Linked DNA regions of Homo sapiens: region 1 is linked to region 2. The links are contacts of gene promoters, found by promoter capture Hi-C in blood cells and fetal thymus (Javierre and others, 2016). All regions are on one chromosome and are shown on one strand. Each heading gives the region's core, a stretch centred on a gene start or on the middle of the fragment in contact. The rest is flanking DNA. Distances are from core to core; before and after follow the strand shown.

Evidence for each region. The method cuts DNA at HindIII sites, captures the fragments that hold promoters and counts their contacts. A CHiCAGO score of 5 or more calls a contact.
Region 1: a contact is called between the fragment with the promoter of YME1L1 here and the fragment with the promoter of ARL5B in region 2, in 1 of 17 cell types (total B cells). The highest score is 7.6, in total B cells.

Annotation. Positions count from the first base shown.
Region 1 is chr10:27,148,974-27,156,094 of GRCh38, reverse strand. It overlaps YME1L1 (YME1 like 1 ATPase), which reads left to right and starts at 1,711. Exons shown (of 19, transcript NM_014263.4): 1 at 1,711-1,917; 2 at 7,055-7,121. The coding sequence starts at 1,885. MASTL (microtubule associated serine/threonine kinase like) reads right to left here and starts at 743. Exons shown (of 12, transcript NM_001172303.3): 1 at 483-743. The coding sequence starts at 668. RefSeq lists enhancers at 52-301, 922-981 and silencers at 656-854, 652-861. The HindIII fragment of the contact is 10,812 bases long and covers 1-7,121 here.
Region 2 is chr10:18,656,232-18,662,888 of GRCh38, reverse strand. It overlaps ARL5B (ARF like GTPase 5B), which reads right to left and starts at 3,458. Exons shown (of 6, transcript NM_178815.5): 1 at 3,206-3,458. The coding sequence starts at 3,251. It also overlaps a transcript of NSUN6 not described here. RefSeq lists a silencer at 3,290-3,369 and enhancers at 3,680-3,809, 4,510-4,629. The HindIII fragment of the contact is 6,724 bases long and covers 1-4,415 here.

The DNA.
Region 1 (7,121 bases), core at 462-2,961, 8.5 Mb before region 2:
GGGCGGAGCTTGCAGTGAGTCGAGATTGCGCCACTGCACTCCAGCCTGGGAAACAGAGCAAGACTCCGCCTCAAAAAAAAATAAAAAAGAAACCTAACTCAAGCCAGGGTGAGACTACGAATCACGGCTTTGGCTTTAAGTGCCTGTTGTACTAAGACCGATGTAATCACCTCGGTCAAGTCCCTTTGCCTTTGGCCTCAGTTTCCTCATTTGCTAACGCTGGGCAGGGAGAAGAGAGTCAAACTTTGCTGTTCTCACTGGGCATCTGAGATATGGAGGGAAGGGCGGAACAGAGGCGAGACACCCGACCCGACCGCTGATGTCGCCCCAAAAAGAAGTCAGCTCGCAGGGCTCTGGAGGCTTCAGCAAGCCAGGCCACCCAGACTCCTCGCTCCAGCAACCCCGGGGCCTGCCCAAGCCGGTGGGGCAGGAAGGAGGGCCGAAGGGCCTAACCCCTTCCTTGCTACTCGTTGACTTCCTACCTTTACTGCATACAATTTGCCGCCTTTCTGCCCCAGATACACTTTCCCGAAGGCGCCCCGGCTAATGGGCTTCACTATGCTGAATTCCTCAATGGAGGGCGGTTTTGGCACTGCGATCCTATTCACGCCCTCCTCAGTCGCCGCGCCTCCTCCAGGCTCCTTCTTGCTTCCCGCGGTGGGATCCATCGCTGGACAGCATACAGCGGCCCCGCAGACACTGCCCCTCCGCGAGCAGCCACTCCCGCCAACTGGGTTCAAAGTGAGGCTCCGCCCACGCCGCGCGCGGCCGTGACGTCACCCCGCCGCCGCGCCCCGCCCTCGTCACCTCCCCTACGCAGACGCGGACGGAGGGGGCGTCGGGAAAGCCCCGACTTCGCAGCCTTACACTCTTCGTGGGCGGCGACCGCGGCCCCACTGACATCATTCCTCATGAGGGAGGAGGCACAAACAGTTCTGGGCCGACCAGAAAAAGGACGACTGGGACTTGACTCTGAATCGCAGGATTTGAAGAGATTTCTCCTGGCTTCCCAACGAGGCTGGTGGGAAGCGGTCCTCCTCCCATACACGACCTCCCACCCTCGCGAGGCGTAGAAACCAGTTCTGACTGTACAGTAAAGCGAGGGCCAGGGCTGAGGTCTGGAAGCTAATGAAAGCACAGAAAGTGTCGAAACTGGATGAGCAGGAAGCGAGTGGCCTCCCCTGTCATCTGACGTTTTCCCAGGATGTAATTTGCCTGACTGAAACAGATCAGGACCAACAGGGAGAGTTTTCGATTTAGTGTGAGGAAAAGAGCACTAAATTGTAGCAAAAGACCTTATTGCTCAAGGCCCAGTCAGAAGATTTCATAAGGAAGCTGTAGAAAGTCTTAAGAGGAAATCAGCCGGGCGTGGTGGCGGGCACCTGTAATCCCAGCTACTCGGGAGGCTGAGGCAGGAGAATCGCTTGAACCCGGGGAGCAGAGGTTGCAGTGAGCCGAGATCGCGCCACTGTACGCCAGCCTGGGCGAAAGAACGAAACTCCGTCTCCAAAAAAAAAAAAAACGAAGAAAAAGTCCAAAGAGGGTAAAGGCTGTTCTCCCCTTAAAAAACAGCTAAAGACCTTTGGGGGCGCTGCTCCTTGTAAATGTCAACTACTTCCGCGGGAAAGAACGCGCAGGCACTTGGCCTTGTGGGCGCTCACTTGCCCCGGAAGTACTGTTGAGTTAGCGCCTCGCCTTCCGGGGCGGATTGTCTGTCGTTGCAGTAGCTGTAGGAAGGGGAGGCCATTTTCCGTTTCTGGGAGGAGTGAGGGGCAACGGGTCGGAGAAAAAGGAAAAAAGAAGGGCTCAGCGCCTCCCCGCCGGGCCGTGGACAGAGGGGCACAGTTTCGGCAGGCGGGTGAGGTCGCTGAGGGCCCGCCGGAGATGTTTTCCTTGTCGAGCACGGTGCAACCCCAGGTAAGCCAGGCATTCAGCCCATTTTTTTTCCTCCCGCCCTGCCCGTGGCTGTTTGCAAATTGCGCTCGTGGAAGCGATTTCTCAGAAGGGACTCTAGAAATGAAGTGATGTACTCAATGCGAATCCCAGGATTGAGGAGTGGATCAGGGGACGACGCTGAGAGTGGGCCGGAGACTTCAGTGCTGACGATGAAGCTGTTGAGGGCAGAGGCGGGATGTGAGCTCAGTGATAGAGAGAGACCCTGGCTTATCGAACTGATTGCGTGGAATTTCTGCTAGAGAATCCGTCCGGCATTGTTCAGTGTCCGGCGTTCTGGGGTGGGAAAATGTCTGTACCATACATTAAAGGGAGCAGGTAATGTTCCCTTTTTTCCGACTTTCCAGTGGCTTTAGTGTTCACAGCCCCTATCCCCTGCTCTTTATTTCCTTTTAAATGGAATTTAAATTTAACCCAAACATGGTATAATATTTCGGATGGCCAGCCATGCAAGTTTTTTTCTCATTTTGACCAGAAGTAACTAAAATGTGTATTTCCGAGTCGTAAACTGTTTGCAGTTAAAATTTTGATTCAGCCTCATCCTCATCGTTTTGTAAAACAAAAGGTAGTGAAGAGAAAAATGATTTCAAGGGTTTTCATTACGCTCTTGGGCAATCACTTGTGACAATGTTTTATTCTTGCTTCATTCCAGTCTCTTTTTTTGATGGTAACATTTTAATAGATTTTTTGAGAGTTCCTACAGTTTTGCAAAGAAATAGTTTTTAAAACATTGAGTTTTTTTAAAACATAATTTTTAAGAAAATCGACACTCTTAGGTTCTTGATTTAAGCATATGATTGTGTTCCTTTGTGTAACTTTTACTCCCCCTCATTTTAAGAATTTTTAATTTTTTGTGCTAGTACTGGCTAACAAACTGAAGCAGCTGCTTGTTATTGGGCATCAGTTATGTACCAGGTGAGCAAAGCAAATGTGGAATCTTCTCTTAATATTGATATGAAGTAAATATGAGTAGGACTTAGCAAGGTGAAGAGTGAACAGGTATCACAGGCATACAGAAAAATACCTGGAGGTCCTGAGTTAGGAAAGGGTTTAGCAGGTTGAAGGAACAAAAATAAGGCTAGTGTGGCTAGAACATAGTAGTTAAAGGGGGTAGTGACAGAAGAGGTTGGAGAAAAGACTTGAGGCAGATCATACAGGGAGTAAAGGATATATTATGGCTGATTTCATTTTAAGTGTATTGGGAACCATTGAAAGTTTTAAAACATGATTAGATTTTCATTTTTAAGAGATGACTGGCTTTTGCTATATGGAGAATAGGAGAGGGCAAGAGTGGAAGATGTTATCAGCTAAAAATACCCACCCACCCCCCAATTAAAGCTGTTGCAGTGGTTATGGAAAGAAGAGAATGAGATATATTTTGAAGAAAGTGGAATTGCATGAGAGATCAGAGAGATGATGGGGAGAGGTGTTTCTGGGTTTGATCAGATGAATGCATTGAAGGTGCTATTTACCAAGATGACAGTGTCTGGAGAAGTCCTAGTAATTGTTTGAAAAAGAAGTCTGACATGGCCTATTGAATATGGTATTGAAGTTTTTGAAACTCAACTCTTTGCCTTAGTTCACATCAAGAGGCCTGATTTTAGGAGAATTTACCATCAACTGAATGGACAGTTAGTAGTATGTGATGTTGGTAGAGATGATAAAGGGATTTTTATGTACCCTAGGCAGTCTTAACAGGGCTCAAATATAGTGAGGACTCTCAGGCATTTCTTGCTTTGAAGGATGGTAACACATTTGGAATTCCTTGTTGCTTAATTGGTTGAATACACTTGAAATTAAATGGTAAAAAGGAAGACACAGAAAATGAACTTTTTCATTGAGAAGAGCTCAACTCTAAATCCTTTTGTGAAAGAAAAGAGATATAACTAATTCAAATAAAAGAGATATAACTAATTCAAATAAATCTTTTCAAAGAGGTAGAAAATATGTATCTTGAAATGATTTGATTATTTTTAAAGTTTCAAAAGAAGTTACTGTTTATTTTTTTTTCTTTTTACTGCCCCCAGGCTGTAAGGAACTTACTGTTTCTTTCTGACTCTAAAAATGATACATTGCTTCACTTGACTAGCCTTAAAACAAATCCATGTTTTTTTGCTAAAAATGCTGAAAGTATAAATAAGATCGCCCATAATCTCATTACTCAGGGATACGTATCTTAGACTAAATTCTTTCACACATTTTTTTCTATAAACAAACACGGGTATGCATACTTTTTTTTATTTTAATTTTTTTTTTTTTTTAAGATGGAGTCTCGCTCTGTCGCCCAGGCTGGAGTGCAGTGGCGCGATCTCCGCTCACTGCAAGCTCCGCCTCCCAGGTTCACGCCATTCTCCTGCCTCAGCCTCCCAAGTAGCTGGGACCACAGGCGCCCGCCACCACGCCCGGCTAATTTTTTGTATTTTTAGTAGAGATGGGGTTTCACCGTGTTAGCCAGGATGGTCTCCATCCCCTGACCTTGTGATCCGTCCGCCTCGGCCTCCCAGAGTGCTGGGATTACAGGCGTGAGCCACCGCGCCCCCACGGGTATGCATACTTAAGGTAGTTTTACGGTCAGCTTTATTCCTTAGTATGTCACGAATTTATTTGTGTATCAATATCCATGGGATGAGAAGTCTGGAATTTTGAGTCAGATTCTAAATCTTTGTTGTCTTCATCTATTAAATGGTCTGTACCCACAATAATGGCGTTAGTCCATTGATGAGGGCAGAGCCCTCCTGAACTAAATGCCTCTTAAAGGTCCCACCTCTTAACAGGATTACAGTGGCAACTAAGTTTGCCATTGTTCTCAACTCAAACTTGAGTTTTGAAGGAGATAAACACTGGAATTTTTACTGGAAGTGGGCCCTGATCCAGACCCCAAGAGAGGGTTGTTGGATCTCGCACAAGAATTCGAGAGAGTCGCCAGGCGCGGGGACTCACGCATGTAATCCCAGCACTTTGGGAGGCAGAGGCGAGCGGATCACGAGGTCAGGAGATCAAGATCCTGGCTAACATGGTGAAACTCCATCTCTACTAAAAATACAAAAAAATAGCTGGGTGTGGTGGCCTGCGCCTGTAGTCCCAGCTACTCGGGAGGCTGAGGCAGGAGAATCACTCGAACCCAGGAGGCGGTGGTTGCAGTGAGCCGAGATTGCATCACTGCACTCCAGTCTGGGCGACAAAGCGAGATTCCATCTCAAAAAAAAAAAAAAAAAAAAAAAGGCGAGAGAGTCTATAAAGTGAAAGCAAGTTTATTAAGAAGGTAAAGGAGTAAAGAATGGGGTACTCCATAGGCAGAGGAGCTGCTTGGGCTTGTCCACGAAGGATACCTACAGTTAGTTATTTCTTGATTTTATGCTAAACAATGTGTGATTATTCATAAGTTTTCAGGGAAAGGGGGACCCCTAAGGTTCCTCCCCTTTTTAGACCACATAGGGTAACTTCTTGATGTTGCCATGGCATTTTTAAACTGTCATGGTCTGGTGGGAGTGTCTTTTAGCATGCTAATGCATTATAATTAGCACATAATGAGCAGTGAGGACTAGCAGAAGTCACTCTCCTCTCCATCTTAGTTTTGGTGGGATTTGGCTGGCTTCCTTACTACAACCTGTTTTATCATCACGGTCTTTATGACCTGTATCTTGTGCCCACACCCTATCTCATCCTGTAACTTAGAATGCCTAACCTCCTGGGAATGCAACCCAGTAGGTCTCAGCCTCATTTACCCTCATTTTGCCCCTACTCCAGATGGAGTCACTCTGGTTCAAAAGTCTCTGACAGAACTGTAACAAGAAGTATAATTGTTACTCATTATTATAGCTGTTTGAGGATTAAATGGGATGATAGAAGTAAAGCCTGTAGTACTAAACCTGGTATATAATAAGAACCCATTTAATGTATTCATTTACTCAACAAATATTTATTAAGTAAATTTTTTTTTTTCTTGAGACAGGGTCTTGCCATGTCATTCAGGCTGGAGTGTGGTGGCATGATAGCTCACTGCAGCTTCAACTTCCTGGGCTCAAGTGTTTTTTTTGTTTTCATTTTTATTTATTTATTTATTTTGAGATGGAGTTTTGCTCTTGTCACCCAGGCTGGAATGCAATGGCATGATCTTGGCTCACTGCAACCTCCGCCTCCCAGGTTCGAGTGATTCTCCTGCCTCTGCCTCCCAAGTATCTGGGATTACAGGCGCCCAACACCATTCCTGGCCAATTTTTTTGTATTTTTAGTGGCGATGGGATTTCACCACGTTGGCCAGGCTGGTCTCGAACTCCTGACCTCAGGTATCTACCTGCCTTGGCCTCCCAAAGTGCTGGGATTACAGGCATGAGCCACCATTCCCGGCCTACTTACTATTTTTTTTTTTTTAAATGTTGGATGTATTTCATTCTGTGGTAGTTTCTTTTTTTTTTTTTTTTTTTTTTTTTGAGAGACAGGTCTCACCCTGTTGCCCTGGCTAGAGTGCAGTGGCATGATCACAGCTCACTGCAACTTCCGCCTCCTGAGATCAAGCAATTCTTCTACCACAGCCTCCCAAGTAGCTGAGACTACAGGCGCACACCATCACACCCATCTAATTGTTGTATTTTTTGGTAGAGATGGGGTTTCACTGTGTTGGTCAGGCTGGTCTTGAACTCCTGACCTCAAGTGATCCACCCACCTCGGTCTCCCAAAGTGCTGGGGTTACAGGCGTGAGCCACTGCACTCGACCAGTGGTATCATTTGTTTTGCCGCTCCCCTAATGCTGGATGTTTCCAGCTTTCTACTATTTTTTAAATGTTTCGATGAGAGTTGTTCTCTATGCATGTGCAAGTACTTGTCAGATTATTTCCTTATAATAAATTCCTAGAAGGTGGATTGCTACAAACAAGAAATGTATGTATTTTTGATACTTTTGATTTACATATTCAGAATAATATCCTGAAAGAACATACCAGTTTTCGTCTCACCAGCAGTAAATCTGAGTACTTACAGTTTTTAGTATACAGAGTTGATATATAATGTACCTTTAACTCTTAACAAATCCTGACAAAAAAAGGAGATTGTTCTGTTTATTTAAAAAAAAACTACTTAGTTTTTAACTTTTATCTTTTTCTAGGTTACAGTTCCTCTGAGTCATCTCATCAATGCCTTCCATACACCAAAAAACACTTCTGTTTCTCTCA
Region 2 (6,657 bases), core at 2,209-4,708:
TCTACTAAAAATACAAAAATTAGCCGGAGTGGTGGTGTGCGCCTGTAATCCCAACTACTCAGGAGGCTGAGGCAGGAGAATTGCTTGAACCCAGGAGATGGAGGTTGCAGTGGACCGAGATCGCACCACTGCACTCCAGCCTGGGTGACAGAGTGAGACTCCATCTCATTAAAAAAAAAAAACAAACAAACAACAAAAAAAGAAATAACTGATGACAGGTTTCCACAATCATAACACTGAGAGAAAAAGACTATGCCTACAAAAGTTCAAAAGAAATTTAAAAAACAATGCAAAACTTTAGAGGTGAGCTATCAAACACACATAACACATATGTATTTCACAGAACTACATTAACATATAAAATGTTTGCAGAGATAATCAGAATTCCAAATTATTTCCTTGAATAATAACTGTCGAAGTAAACAGGCTTCCAGTTCAAACAATACAAAATTGCAGGAATTAACTTTTACATTGCTTTACTTAGACAACACACGCTTTAGTATACTTATTCACAGAAAGGTATCTAATTTATAAGACGCATGAGACTCTAAAATGCTACAGGAAAAAAAAGGATGAGAATGTGGAAATACTGGAAGAAAGACACGGGAAAGGAGCACATAAAGTAAGATCAGTAGTTCTTAACACTGGCTGCACATTCGATTTACCTTGGCAGTGATGCCCAGGCCTCTTCACCCCAATCTAATTTAGTTGGTGTGAGGTGGCGCTTTGGGCCTGTTATTCTAATATATCTAATTCCACTGGAATAGATAAATATAGTTACAAAAATGGAAAATGCTGAGATTGGTAGTTAATTTTGTTGATGCAGAAAACAAAAATATAGGCTAAGATACATCTGTGGATTAAACCCTTCAGTGAGTCCCATTCCTTGCTCTAGAGAGTTTAATGTCTTAGTCAACACTGGAGGCCCTCTGTGATAAGGTTCTCCTGGTTGTCTTTCCAATCTCATCTCCTCTTCACTCCTCGCAAGCAAACTAACACACAGCCAAGCTCAACTATTTTCAGCTTCCCTAAAAGTACCAAACTAGCTCATTCCTCTCCCTTTTGCATATTAGCTCTTCTGCCTAGAATAACACGTCCCTTCTATTCGGTCTGTCTAGCATGCCACCCAAATTCCTACTCATCATTACATTACGTCCAAGTATACCTTGTGCTGCAGCCAACGTTATATTTTTACACATATCTGTTAAATAATTTACCACACTGCATTTTTTTTCATGTTTGTCTCGTTTATTGATGTTTGAATACTTTGCCAAGAAGTAAGGTATCTTTATTCTTTAATTTTGTATCTCCTATGCTAAACTCTGAAGACTGGCCTATGGCTGTATGAATGAATAAGAATAAAATAACAGAATAATCACTGGTTCTAAATTTTCCAACAGGAAAGTTAGAGGAAGAGAAAAATTCTAAGTAGAAATGGAGATTCAGGAGGCCTGAACAATTATGCGAGTATAAAAGTAGCCACTGGATGTCTTTCATCACCATCTACATTTTCCCCTTACATCTTTTATTACCTCTAGTCTGAGTAAGGACACCTCCAACGAAAAAAGACAAGACAGCAGCCATGTAACAGAAAAGGGAGAAAGGAAAACGGGAAAGGATATAAAGGGAAAACCAACTACTTCGGTAACGTTTCGATTCTCCAGCTCAGGGGAAAGAGAAAACTGGTGATTTTTGTATTAATCTTTATACCTTTAAGCATGTCTTAAAATGCTGTTTTACCGCTGGGCGCGGTGGCTCACACCTGTAATTCCAGCACTTTGGGAGGCCGAGGTGGGTAGATCACCTGAAGTCAGAAGGTCGAGACCAGCCTGCCCAACATGGCGAAACCCTGTCTCTACTAAAGATACAAAAATAGGCCGGGCGTGGTGGCGGGTGCCTGTAAATACCAGTTACTCGGGAGGCTGAGGAACAAGAATCGCTTGAACCCAGGATGCAGAGGTTGCAGTGAGCTGAGATTGCGCCACTGCACTGAAGCCTGGGCGACAGAGAAAGACTCTGCCTCAAAAAATAAATAAATAAAAATAATATTTTAAATGTATGGATAATACCCACAAAGTGTGAAGCTCTGCTCACTTTGAAATCATTTGATAAGTAATATTATCTGTGGTTACTGGATACAGGCATATACATATATATACACATGTGTGTGCCTGTATCTATATTTATAACCTTGAAAAAGACTGCTTTAGTGTTCTTATCAATCTACAGAACAAGTCAACTAAAGCCATTCCATTACCTCCACAACTTCTTAAATCCAGAAAAAGATTAGATACCTACATTAGCAGTAACAAATTGGTACCAACATAAAAGGAAATAAAACTGGCTTATTAACGATGCCCGGCTCTTAAATGTAAAATGAAACGAGTTGATTTTCAAAACTGGTTTCAATTACTAAGAAACCATTCTGTTCAAAGGACGCCTCAAACTTTAACTTATCGTCGGCCCCTTTTTTGGTCTGGGTGTTTTCTCTCTTCAGAAGACATCACATCTCATTCTGATTCAGAACAGGTTTTGCAACTTCTCGGCCCTTTGGACCTGCCACTTCCAGGTGTCTCATTACCTGTTACAGACTAATTACGGACACGTAACGTCTTACACAAAACCGAAAAGCATTTAGTTTCTGAACTAAATGCTTTAAAAAAAAAAGTTTACAATGAAGATGCTGGAAAACTCGTGCATCTGAATAGGACAACTCATTCCCAAGTCCTAGAGGAAAGGAGGCGAAATCAGAGTGAAAGTGCACTGGCTTACGGCTCAAACTGCAGGGCGGGAAAACAAAGCACCTACATTACTCAAAAAAAAAAAAGTTCTAGGTTTCTGGGCGGACACTTATCCTGGGGATACACATAGACACAAGCACGCTTCAATAAAGACGAGAAAGGCCCTCCATACGCCTCCTGGCATCATTAGCTGTATCCCGCTTTACTTCGCCAATATCCAAACATTCTCAGTTTGGATTCTGGGACGCCAAATACCTTCTCTTCTGCCTCCCTATTTCTCCCACACGTCAGGTCTCTCCTGTACGTCCTCCAGGTCTAAAACACTGAGTTTCTGCCCGCCCCCTGGCCTAAGTCCCTTCCTCCTCCGCGTCTCCGAACGCTCTGTCCCCTGTCTCCGGTGTCCCCATCGGCGGCGGGACCCTCTGCCTCGGATTCGAGCCGCCGCGCAGCTCCATTCTTCTCACCTTGGTTACAGAAGAGGCTCCACAGTTTGGCGAAGATCAGCCCCATCACGAGCACCGGGGCGGGCCGCGGGGTCCCTCGGCAGCAGGTGCCGCTGCGCCGGGTCCCCCACCGCGGCGCGGGCTGCGCGGAGCCGAGGAGAACCCGCCTGAGATCGCGCAGCGAGGGCACTGCTAGGCCGAGAAGCCTCGACCCGACCACTCAGAAGGCGCCGCGACGAATCCCCACCGGACAGCCCTTTGTTTCGAGCCCACTGAGCCCAACGCCGACCCGTAGTCCCCTCGGTCTGTACCCACCTACCTACCACAGCCTCTCCACAGCCCCAAGCCCCGCCTCCACCCCGCCTCCCCTCCGGATCCCAGGACCACCCATCGCCGGAAGCTAGGCGCGTGACGACGGCGCACTTACGGCAACCCACGCCTTCGACGTGGCGTTTTCTTCGGTTTCACTTCCGGTAGGAGAGTCCCAAACGGCCAGCGGCTGGGAATTTGCGGTATCGCGGGGGGGTGGGAAATTTCCCTTGGTGCGTGCTCCTTCTGATGTCAGCCTTCAAAACGTTTGTGGGACTCCCCTTTGATTTGAGTCTCTGCTGCTAGCAGCTGCTTCCCTGACCTCTAAAACCAGGAAAGACCATAGGTTCTCTAAGTGAGCAGCCGCCGTTTGCTGCTCTTAGAAAACTCACAGAAGTGAAGAGTGTTTCTTTCCTGACTTATTCCTGTTCCCCTAGGCAGGCGTGCTAGGGGTTAGGAGTTCTGCCGTGATTCTTCTTCATTCATTTATTAATCTATTCATTCACGTATTCATTCATTGGCTTATGCATTTATGTACTCATTGATTGATTGATCGATTGCAGACGAGGTCGGGCTGTGTTGCCCAGGGGGACTCAATTTCCTGGGCTCAAGCGATCTTCCTGCCTCGACTTCCCAAAGTGGTGGGATTGCAGGCTCAGCCACCGCGCCCGGCCCCTGTCGTGATTCTTAGTTCTGAAAAGAATTGATTGGGAGACGAGCCATGGAAGGCCTGGAGCCACAGAGTTCAGTTATGTGATTAATAATAACACATAATAATAACACATAGCACCCCTCTCCATTTTGCCAAGCATTAGGTATGTTCGTGGATCCCAGATCGAAGTCCACGCATAAGCCAATTCGCTGTGTAATTGTTTTCAATTCCACTTTCCATGGTTAGGTTCTAGCATTGAAAAGAAAAGCTTCACAGCCTGGCATGAAACGAAACTGAATGTCCTTGAAACCAGTTGACGGAGGAGCAAGCTTAAAATTTTTTTAGACTCTGACTTCAGTCAGATGGTTGGATTTTAACCTTGGCAACGTGGCCTTTTAACATGCCAAACTCTTGAGTTAACCTGTACAAGGAGAATGTATGACTTACGTCCTCCCAGTGCTATGGTTTAAAGACCCTTTAAGACTTAGATGCAGGATAATATGCTCCAACGTTACAACATTAAAGGCAAGTTTCAACCTCCTATGTAGAGGAAAAAGAATGTACTGACCCTATGCAAACTTAACTTTCATGACTATCAGTTGGACCATAAATGTGAATAATTTTGTGTTTGTGTAAGTAATGGCTTAAAAGGACATTTTTAGTCCTAGCTTCATTATCACAAAACAAACTTTAGATTCCGTAACAGCTTCTTCAATTGTTAGACATGGATGTAAACCACATTCTGCTTTTTTTTTTTTTTTCTGGCTTTCGGATTTCTAAGAAACCATTTCTGAAAAGAACAAAGCATTTTTGTATGAAGATGCAGACATTTGGCTGGGCGCTGGGGCTCATGCTTGTAATCCCAGCACTTTGGGAGGCTGAGGCGGGTGGATCACGAAGTCAAGAGATGGAGACCATCCTGGCCAACATGGTGAAACCCTGTCTCTACTAAAAATACAAAAATTAGCCGGGTGTGGTGGCACGCGCCTGTAATCCTAGCTACTCAGGAGGCTGAGGCAGGAGAATTGCTTGAACCTGGGAGGCAGAGGTTGCAGGGAGCAGAGATCACACCAGGGCACTTCAGCCTGGCGACAGAGTGAGACTCCGTCTAAAAAAATAAAAATAAAAATAAAATAAAGAAAATGCAGAGATTTGAAGCAAAAAAAACTATAGATTTCTTAAACATTTTTATGATATTTTAGAGACAGTAAGTTTGAATTATACTTCTACTTTTAACTAAGTGGAATGAATGTATTTATTTGAACATGGCTCTTGATATTTTTATTGGTTTTGTTTCTTTGAAATTTCAGAAAACTTTAGTGTTGAAGTTTTCAGTTCGTTAAAATTTACTTTTAACTTACTTTTAACACCTTTCTTATGAACAATTTACCTGACAATGAGACTGTTCTAATATTTTAAAAATATTTTTTCATATTTAAAAGTTTTGTTTGCTGATTTGGAAATCTAAAATTTTTACAAACTGGAGGGAAAGAAAAATAGCCACAATTATCAAAAGTAATATGATTGATTAACAGAATATAGTTGTGTATTATCTAAACAGATATCATGCTGATGTACCTATCGATCTGTTAGAAAAAATACTTTCAATTACATTAGGAGAGGCACGGTGGCTCATGCCTGTGATGCTAGCAGTTTGGGAGGCCAAGGCAGGTGGATTACTTGAGCCCAGGAATTTTAGATCAACCCAGACAACATGGAGAAATCCTGTCTCTCCAAAAAAATACAAAAGTTAGCTGGACATGGTGGTGCACATGTGTAGTCCCGACTAATGAGGTGGCTGAGGCAAGAGGCTCATTTGAGCCAAGGAGGTCAAGACTGCAGTGGGCTAAGATCGTGCATCTGGACTCCAGCCTGGGTGACAGTGAGACCCTGTCTGAACCAAAAAAAAAAAAAAAAAAAAAAAAAAGGATTGTAACTAATTTTCTTAAGTGTTCATTGGAAATAACTTCCTTTAATTAAATTGGAATCCCAGTAAAATCTCTATCCAGTTCAACAAAATATTTTAAAGAGTTCAAGGAAGAAAAATGTCAAACAACTCGGGAATTCAAAAAATAAAACTATAAGATGTTTTTAAAAGGAACTATTACAAACTAACTTCAGATAATACTTGGAAGAGCTAGCTGTAGCTGTAATTGAATTCAATTTATTACTTATACAACTCTGATCAATTTGTCCATTGCTTTTTTTAAACGGAGTCTCACTCTGTCACCTAGGCTGGAGTGCAGTTGTGTGATCTCAGCTCACTGCAACCTCTGCCTCCCGGGTTCAAGCAGTTCTCCTGCCTCAGTCTCTTGAGTAGCTGGGATTACAGGCATGCACCACCATGCCCAGTTAATTTTTGTATTTTTAGTAGAGATGGGGTTTCACCATGTTGGTCAGGCTGGTCTTGAACTCCTGACCTCGTGATCCACCTGCCTTGGCCTCCCAAAGTGCTGGAAGCCACCATTTTTTAACTTTCCTCAACCTTTAAGGTAATGCCCATTGTGATTTT